Regions from separate parts of the Homo sapiens genome. Here region 2 is linked to region 1. The links are contacts of gene promoters, found by promoter capture Hi-C in blood cells and fetal thymus (Javierre and others, 2016). All regions are on one chromosome and are shown on one strand. Each heading gives the region's core, a stretch centred on a gene start or on the middle of the fragment in contact. The rest is flanking DNA. Distances are from core to core; before and after follow the strand shown.

Evidence for each region. Contacts are between HindIII fragments. The CHiCAGO score rates a contact against its expected background, and 5 or more counts as called.
Region 2: a fragment that was not itself captured here is called in contact with the fragment with the promoter of C3orf49 in region 1 in 2 of 17 cell types (megakaryocytes and endothelial precursors); the score reaches 6.4 in megakaryocytes.

Annotation. Positions count from the first base shown.
Region 1 is chr3:63,815,971-63,820,768 of GRCh38, reverse strand. It overlaps C3orf49 (chromosome 3 open reading frame 49), which reads right to left and starts at 1,470. Exons shown (of 7, transcript NM_001355236.2): 1 at 1,173-1,470. The coding sequence starts at 1,297. RefSeq lists a silencer at 2,004-2,123. The HindIII fragment of the contact is 1,193 bases long and covers 1,019-2,211 here.
Region 2 is chr3:64,482,291-64,486,905 of GRCh38, reverse strand. The region is part of intron 3 of LOC105377123 (a long non-coding RNA gene); the gene reads left to right. Among named protein-coding and RNA genes, the nearest start is that of PRICKLE2-DT, 39 kb to the right of the region's middle. The HindIII fragment of the contact is 1,958 bases long and covers 2,141-4,098 here.

The DNA of each region.
Region 1 (4,798 bases), core at 221-2,720:
GGAGGGAGCACCATTTCCTAATTCACCCAGAGATAACTTATGGGTAGGATTAATCTCCCGTAGACCCCTCTGAGACTCCTTTAATAATAATTTAATTTTTAAGTGATTCTACTACTATAAACATGTACACACATACACATACTGTGACACAGAACAATGCAAATACAGTTTCAGGAGATTCAGGAATTTTGAAGACCACCCATGTTAAAAGCCCAGTTCTAAGTGGTCTCAGAATCTCTAGAAGGTGTTTCCCATTCCCATCCTCCCCACTCTCATCCCCAATCTATCTAGAACATAATTAACAAAGGTGATTTAGCTCCAGAGCCTAGGAACACACTGCTGCAATTTCTGATATGAGCAGAACCCTCCCCTTCTTAAGTTTTTAAATATTTTTGTGTTGGTACTGAATTTATTTGGTTGTATTGCTTCCCCCGGAGTGCCTACTTTTCATTGAAAGTGGAAATCTCTGCAGTATTTTATTTTGTCCATGGAAGTTCACAAGCTTGGTCTTTGATGCTTCCAGGACTCATTAAAACACCTCACTTCTACATGTCTGAACTATAGCCCATGGACCTGGTAAGAGAGAAGCCCAAAGAAATTGGAAAATAAATCACCACACTGACTTTCCAAATTAAAATATATTATATTTTGGATGTTTCATACCTGTCTATATGGTTTTGTCATTGGCAAAAAAATAGCAAGTCTAAGGCAGTTTTAACGTTACATTAAACAATGTGTCCATAGTGAAATGTGATTAGTACATATTTCAGCAGCCCAAATTGCTGGGATAGGAGAAAGAAAGCACTGATCGTGGACCTATTTCGAAGAATGCACTAATGACTTTTCAAAATAATAGTATTTTCACGGGATGTGAGATGTCCAAAATTCTGATGCTGAAATATCAACATAGGATCAGAACTTATTTTAGTCTCCTATGCCACATTGAAACTTAATTTCGAGTGGAAAGGAAAGGTTTTCCCTGTTACAATTAAGATGTTTCTGATCATAAAATGAAGCTTACATTGTCACACTAGATTTCTTGATCCAACGCAGTACCCTCCCCGCCAATCCATCCAGAGTCCTCATTCCTAAATGCAATGCTTAAAAGGACATGCCACTATGCCAAACCCAAAGACTCTCATTTGACAGAAAAGGAAATGAATCTCTGTTACCTTTCTATCCCCTTCCTTTTGAATGAGCCATTTTTCTTCTTGAGTTGCTGGAATCTTCGGCACTGTCCAACTTTTCTGTAGGCAATCTTAAAGGGTTCTGGTAGATACAGCTGAGGTTGGGCCATTGCTCTCAACTTCACCTGTAGTAGCCGTTTTGGATTGTTTTAGTTCTTGAACTTACAGACTTCAATACAAAATCATCCAGTGACTGAATGTACTGTCAAGGTGTGGGCTATTCGGAATAAAATATGTAGGAAATTTTTAGAGTCTTTCCCTTATTCCCTTCCAGGTGTTAGAGACATTATTTGTGGGACTGGCCCTGTTTACAACTTCACAGAGGTCACCAGTGATGTATTTGACAGAGCTGTGTGAAATTCCATGGACCTTTGTGGAACACTTCACAGATTCTTGAACAAGGCAAATACAGAAATGATGATCTGATTGCCTCAATGCTGGCATTTGGATAGAAAAAAAAAATCAAACAACAACAACAACAACAAAAAACACCCACACACTAATTGACCACCACATTCAGAAGTGCGTATTTGAACTCTGAAGTGGTAGGGACCTATAGGAATACCAACGATACGCTGATTAACACAAGTTGAGCTTCTGTTAGATCTCTCAGTTACAGCTGGTGAATGTTCTCTGTGTCCTGTGGGACACATATGACAAGGCCAGTTGTTGTTTGGACATCTCAAAATGTACCCCAAGGGTGGTTTTCATTACATCTTGGAATTTTGCAGTGGTCTCTCAAAGTACATTGCTAAATTGAGGACCTGATCCACCCCTCCCTTCCAACATTGCCCCATTTATTTCGTGGTGAAGAGCGAATTCTGCCTGTGATGGAACTTCTCACCACAAGGTGGCAGCAGACACTAGGATTTATTCCTGTTACCCTCTCGCGGTTTGAGTTGTTCAGTCAAATAACTAGATGCTTAACAAGAAAAACTCCTCTAGAAAGGTTCTGGGAGTTACAAGAATTACTCTGCTTTCTGTGTTTGCATTAATCAATAATCTGGAGCATACTTCTCAAGCTTTCAAGTGCACACAAACTTCCTGGAGGTCTTTTTAAGATGCAGATTTCGATACAGTACATCTGGGCTGGGATCCAAGAATTTGCACTCCTAACAAACCCGCAGGTGACGCTGATGATGCCAGACTGCACTTGGAGTAGTGAGGGTCTTGTATGTTTCAGTACTGGGGAAAAGAGCTTTAAAATGGTCTAGAATGAAGTGTATAATGTTAAGGGGCTAAGAGAGTGGATTTGGGAATTATGCATGAGTTCTCATTTCTAGCTTAGCTATGTGACCTTGGCCAATTCATTTTAACCCACCCATGCTTGTTTTCTCATCCCTAAAGTGGGACAACTCATAGTGCCCAAGCCATAGTTTTATGGCAAAATTCAAGTGAAATAGAAATTCCGCTTCAGCAGGGAATGAGACCCAGGAATCCATATTCTAGGAGAGTGGGTGCAGATGTTCCTCTGTCCCTTATTTGAGAAACGCTGAAGTAGAGCATATCTAATATGCCTTGGCCAAATGGACATATGCTCCTCCCTGGTCTGTTTTTCCTCATCTGTTGGCATCCTCAGAGCACAATAAATAATAGGTGCTTGAATAAATGAATACATGAATATTTTCTTTAGCAACAGGGCAATATTTTTCATGCAATTATTGGCACTCCTGCCTTAATTCTGTTGTATTTCATCAATTATCTAGATGAATGAGATGAATTTTATGCTAGGAAAGACAGCTGTTTTTTATTTGTGCATGGGTGTCTATGTACATGTCTCTGTGTGTGCATGTCTGCATGTATGTGTGTATGTAATAGGCTGAAACACTTGCTGCTGTGGCATCTGTGACAAAACTTGTAGGTTCCCAAAGGAGTCCTGAAGCAGATGACAGAACTAGAAGGAGTGGGAAGGGGGTGGGGAAAGAGTTAGAGTATAGAGAGACATCAATTTTGAGCTGTGTCTGGATTTACATTCTAGATCTACCCCTTCCAAGCTTATGGGTCCTTGGGCGGGTAACGAAAACCTCTTTGGACCTTCATTTTCTCGTTCGTAAAACAGGAGTAATAACTGCTACCTCCCAAGCTTCTTTGAGTCATTCAGTTATTTAACAAATATTTGAATGCCTAGTGGTTCCCAGGCACCACCCTAGACACCACCCTAGACACCAGGGATACTGCAGTGAACAACATACACAAAATCTCTGAACTCATATAACTTAATATGCTGTGGGAGATGCAGGTAACAAGGAAATGAACATTTTAATTTCAGCTGGTAGTAAATGTTATGAAAAAAGTAAAAGAGGATGATGGGATAGAGTGACTGAGGATGAGGAGTGACTTTAGATGGAGCGTTAGGAAAGCCTGTCCAATGAGGTCATTGGTCCTGAATGCTGAACGGGGAAAAGAGCCAATCGTGTGAAAATTTGTGTGACCCAGGCAGATGAAACAGCATGTGCCAAAGCCCGGAGGTGGAAGAAGCCCAGTGTCTTTGAAAATGTGGAAGAAAGCGGTCAGGTGCGATGGCTCACGCCTGTAATCCCAGCACTTTGGGAGGCCGAGGTGGGTGGATCACGAGAGCAGGAGATCGAGAACATCCTGCCTAACGTGGTGAAACCCCCATCTCTACTAAAAATACAAAAAAATTAGCCGGGCGTGGTAACGGGTGCCTGTAGTCCCAGCTACTCAGGAGGTTGAGGCAGGAGAATGGCGTGAACACGGGAGGCAGAGCTTGCAGTGAGCCGAGATCGCGCCACTGCACTCCAGCCTGGGCGACAGAGCAAGATTCTGTCTCACAAAAAAAAAAAAAAAAAAAGAAAAGAAAAGAAAATGTGGAAGAAAGCTAGGGTGGCTGGAGCAAAGAGGTAGATGTGTGTGATAAGCTGGAGGGAGGACCAAATCTCTTGAGTCCTATAGATCAAATTAAAGGTTTTGGTCTTGATCTTCAGAGCAATGGGGAGTTGTTGAGGTTTTTTTGGTTTGTTTGTTGTTGTTGTTGTTGTTTAAACAGCATCTTACTCTGTCACCCAGGCTGGAGTGCAGTGGCACCACGCTCACTGCAACCTCTACCTTCTGGGTTCAAGCGATTCTTGTGCCTCCTGAGTAGCTGGGGTTACAGGCACGTGCCACCACGCCCAGCTAATTTTTTGTATTTTTAGTAGAGACGAGGTTTCACCGTGTTGCTCAGGCTGGTCTGGAACTCCTGAGCTCAGGTGATCCACCTGCCTCAGCCTCCCAAAGTGCTGGGATTACAGCCTTACTGAGGGTTTTTAGGGAACTTGTTCATATATTTATTCAGGGAAATGGAATTCAGTTGTGAAGAAAATGACTAAAATCCTTGCCCAGGAATTACAATTCTAGTGGAGGACACAGACACCAATATGTTAACCAATAGAAAATTGTTTCAGGTACTGACAAAGTATGCTATGAGACAAATAGAAAAAAAAAAACAAAATCAACAAAGAAAAAAGAATTAAAAATAAATAAATAAAAAGAAAAACAGGCCAGGCATGGTGGCTCATGCCTGTAATCCCGGCACTTTGAGAGGCCGAGGCAGGCAGATCACGAGGTCAAGAGATCGAGACCATCCTGGCCAACACGGTGAAACCCCGTCT
Region 2 (4,615 bases), core at 1,870-4,369, 660 kb before region 1:
GCTATTCTTCCAAAGGCTCTGAGCCAGCAATTTTAAAAGTCTTAAAAGTTGAGACACCCATCATTGCCTGATCACTCTCTTCTGAAGAGGTTCTGGGAGAATCAGACCTAGAAAGTAGGTCAAGGGTTCTTTGATTTCAGCTCTGTTTTAATATTTTTACCTTGGCTACGAGTTTAGAGCAAAATAAAAAAATGCCCTGCGGGAACAGCTTTTCCAGTTCTCCTTTTGCTGCCTCTTTTTTCCTTCCTTCCATATCTTAGGATGAATGTGGATACAGGCAGCCTGAATTCATGGCCAGCTCTGCCATTTTGATGTGTGTGACCTCAGCCAAGTGTCCCGGCCTTTCTAGGTCTCCATTTCCACATGTGTAAATTGAAGAGAATATGACCTTACCTTGCCCGGTTATGTGAATTAAAGATGTAATATTAAAAGATGAGCACACAGGAAGCCCTCGGGGGATATAACAGAAGCAGGACAGGGCTCCCACTTCTATTAGTACTATTACTTCTAACCTTTACTCCCTGATTCGTGCTTCTCTTCAACCCTTCATTCAGTAACCATTTATTGGGTACCTACTATGTCCCAGGGAGTGAACAAGAAGGCAAAGTTTCTGCCCTCTTAAAGTTTGTCTTCTGGCAGAGAGGTAAATGTATTTTAAGTGAACAGAAATAACATAATTGCAAATTGTAATAGATAAAGGAAATAAACAGTTTGCTGAGATAGAGAACAAGGGCTGAGGGGAAGGTGAGACATATGTTGAATGTGACATTCAGGGAAGGTCTCCCTGAGGCGGTTACATTTCTATGAGCCCTGAAGACTGAGAGACAATCAGACAGCAGAAGAGCTAAAGGGGGCACCATCTGAGCAGAGAAAGGCTCTTTCAAAGGTCTTCAGGTGACCACCTGCGGTGGTCAAGAGGCAGATAGGAGGCCAGTGAGTGGTTAGCAGAGGGTGTGAGAGGCCAGGAGCTAGGAACCCAACAGGACTTCTAGATTGATAGGTCTCACCCTGCCTGACAGGCCATGGTACAGAAGGTGAATTTTTAAAATATACATATATAAGTGTAATAAGTCATTTAAACAGGAGTTTCATGGTCCACCTTATATTTTTACAACAGTAGTTCTCAAAGTGTGAACCTCAGCCCAGGAGGGTCACCTGGGAATTTGTGAGGCATGGAAATTCGCAGGTCCACTTCTGGCCTGATGAATCACAGGCTCTGGGAGTGGAACTCAGCGGTCTGTATTTTAACAAGCCCTCCAGGAGATGCTGCTACTGCTGGTCTGAACTGGAAGCTCAGTGATTCTCAATCCTGGATGCACAAAAGAATCATCTAACTTTGGGAGGCCAAAGCAGGTAGATCGCTTGAGGTCAGGAGTTTGAGACCAGCCTGAGCAACATGGTGAAACCCCATCTCTACTAAAAATACAAAAAATTAGCTGGGTGTGGTGGCACACACATAGTCCCAGCTACTTGGGAGGCTGAGGCCAGAGAATCGCTAGAACCTGGGAGGTTGAGGTTGCAGTGAGCCGAGATGGCACCACTACACTCCAGCCTGGGTGACAGAGCAAGACTCTGTCTCGAAAAATAAAAATAAAAAGAATCATCCAGGAGCTTTCATGAGCTACGAATGTTGAGAGACCTTCTACCCACTACCCCTAGATTCTGATTTAATTAGTCAGGGTTTGGCCCCTGGGTGTTGGTAGGTCTTGAATGTTCCCCAAGGCATTCCATAGCTACAGCAGGTAGGACCACAGCTCTAGCTGCTGCGTGAAGAATAGACAACAGGGGGAAGGGAGGAGATGCAAGAAGATCAGGAGGCTAATGCAGTGGTCCAGGTGAGGGATGATGGTGGCAGAGAATATGAAGGGGCTTAGACAGATTTTAAATATATTTCACAGAGAAAAACCCAACAGGACTTTTAGATTGATAGGATATGGGGTGGAGAGGTGGGACTTATATTCAGCATCAGATCGAAGGGAATGCCAGCCATAATAGTAAAGACCCTGTGCTTTTAGATAGCCTGCAGCTAGAAGACCCTGGCAACATAGCCTAACGTTGAGCACAGGGCCCCAAAGAAGTCCATCTTCTCTATCTGCCTGGCAACAAAGAAGATTTCAGCAAACTTAGCAAGATCTAAGCTTATCCTAAGTTCTCAGAGGAGCCACAATGTGAAAGGGACTTTACGAAAAAAAAATCTGAATACTCAGCTAGGATGTTCCTGTTTTACAGCCCAGTCTCCTGGGAACACTCTGGGCACTGGCCCTTCTGGGGAGAACAGGGGACTGGATGGTATATCCAGGAGTGACCAGCAGGTGGCATGCCAGACTCAGAAATGTGTATTGCAGGGAGCAAGGCAACTCTTGCTGTTTGCTGCTTAAACAGAAGAAAAGGATTCACTCCGGAAGTAATACTCATGTGTGCCATGTACTAAATGGCTACTGTGTGCCAGATACTGTGCCAAGTGCTTATGTGTATATTCTCATTTAATCCTCATAGCTCTACAAGGTGAGCTCCACCACTGTACATATATTCAGAGATCTAAGTGGCTTGGGCAATGTCACTGACATGGTCATTGGCAGAACCAGCCTTGGTCCTCTAGCCTGTCTGACCCCATGGCCACTTTTCCTGTCAAAAGGGCCAGGATCCCCAGCGGCTCTTTCTTGTCCACAGTGGTGCTCTCACTCACACTTGGGGGTAATGCCCTTGGAAGGTGGGGCCATCAGAATTATCAAAGCCTTTAAAGTCAAACGCCCTGGGCTTTGCCGCTCACTTGCTGTGCGATGGTAAGAAAGCTACTTGGCCTCTCTATCCTCAGGTTTCCTCATCTCTAAAATGGGGTGAGGCTGGGCCCAATGGCTCACTCTTGTAATCCCAGCACTTTGGGAGGCTGAGGCAGAAGGACTGCTCGAAGCCCGGAGTTCGATACTAGCCTGGGCAACAAAGTGAGACCACGGCGCTACAAAAAAAAAAAAAAAAAAATTAAAATGCGTTGAGACGTGAGGCAGTGAGCTGTGGTGAGATGATCTTATGTAACTGACCCAGAATCTTGCTTGCTTGGCCCAGAGGAGTGCTCAATGAATGGCAGCTTTTCTGCTTAAAATGATTTCACAGGAGGTAGAGACAACTCTGAAAGGTCTAAAACTGTGCTATCCAATGGTGCTCTCTGCAGTGATAGAAATGCTCTATAACTGTGCTGTCCAGCAGCATAGTCATAACCACATGTGGCTATTGAGTGCTTAATACATAGCTAGTGCAACTGAGAGATTGAATTTTAAATTTTACTTAATTACAATAAATGTAAATTTCAATAACCATATGTGGCCAGTGGCTACCGTATTGGACAGTGCAAGTCTAAAATGTGTCTGCGCTCACAGTCTGTGTGTCCTTTACAGCCCCTTGGGTATGAAACAAAATAAGTTATGTTCAACATTTGGATCCTGGCATATAGCAGGCACCCAGTAAATTTGAGTTAGTCAGAAATGGGAGAGAAAGGAAAATCAGTAAGTGAAGCCAAAGCAATGTTTTACATTTAACAAATTGTGTAAAATTGTAGAACTGGACTCTCAGACTTCTCCAGCAAAATCTTCCAGAGTTCAGTAACCATGGGGGACTGACTGGGGCAGGTTGTTAGTTTTTTACCCTTTCAAGCCAGAATTCTCTAAATATTTCTTCAGCCTGTATTCGATGGGGACAGAGAACAAATGTGTTCAAGTGAATAACGTGTGTGTTCAATACAAATTCCTTTCATCTATTCACTGACTAAAGAACACTTCCTCCTTTTCTGTGCCCCCTCTTCAAATTTTTTTTTGCAATTTCACAAATCAGACAACTGCTTAGAAAGTTTATTCTCTCTCTCTCTCTCTCTCTTTTGTTTTGTGTGTTTGTTTTTTGAGACAGGGTCTCACTCTGTTGCCGAGGCTGGAGTGCAATGGTGAGATCTCAGCTCACTGCAGCCTCAACTTTCTGGAGCTCAGATGATCCTCCACCTCATCCTCCCAAGTAGCTGGGACTATAGGCATGTACCACCACACCCAGACTATTTTTGTGTTTTTTCTGTAGAGACAAGGTTTCACATGTTGCCCAGGTGGGTCTCAAGCTTCTGGGACCAAGTTACTTGCTTGTCTTGGCCTCCCAAAGTGCTGGGATTACAGACATGAGCCAGCATGCTGCGCCAAAAGATTTTAAAGGTTCAAAGTATAAATAACAAAACAACTGGCCCCCCAGGAAGCAGCACTATATCATGCATTTCTCACTTCCAAAATTTTATCTATCCAGATTTTGTTTTTAAGTGATGGTCAGTTGGCAATTCTTGCATGTTCCATAGTTGAATCTTGCAGTTTATAAAAGCTAGTGGCAAACATTTTCTCCAGAGGTAGGTCTGCATTGGCTGACACTGCCATTTGCTTCTATCTGAAGATAATTTCTAGTCAATATTGGGACCAATTTGCATTCCACCTGTGGTTTAAGAAAAATCTGAGTTAATAGACATCTTATTTCCAAAGTATCCCAGTGATGTGTAGTGGTCCTTGTGGACTGGCCCCCTGGGCTGCTGGTCCATTTCCTAACCTGGCTCTGACCCAGTTAAGACCAAGCCCCTCTCCTCCAGAGCATCCTG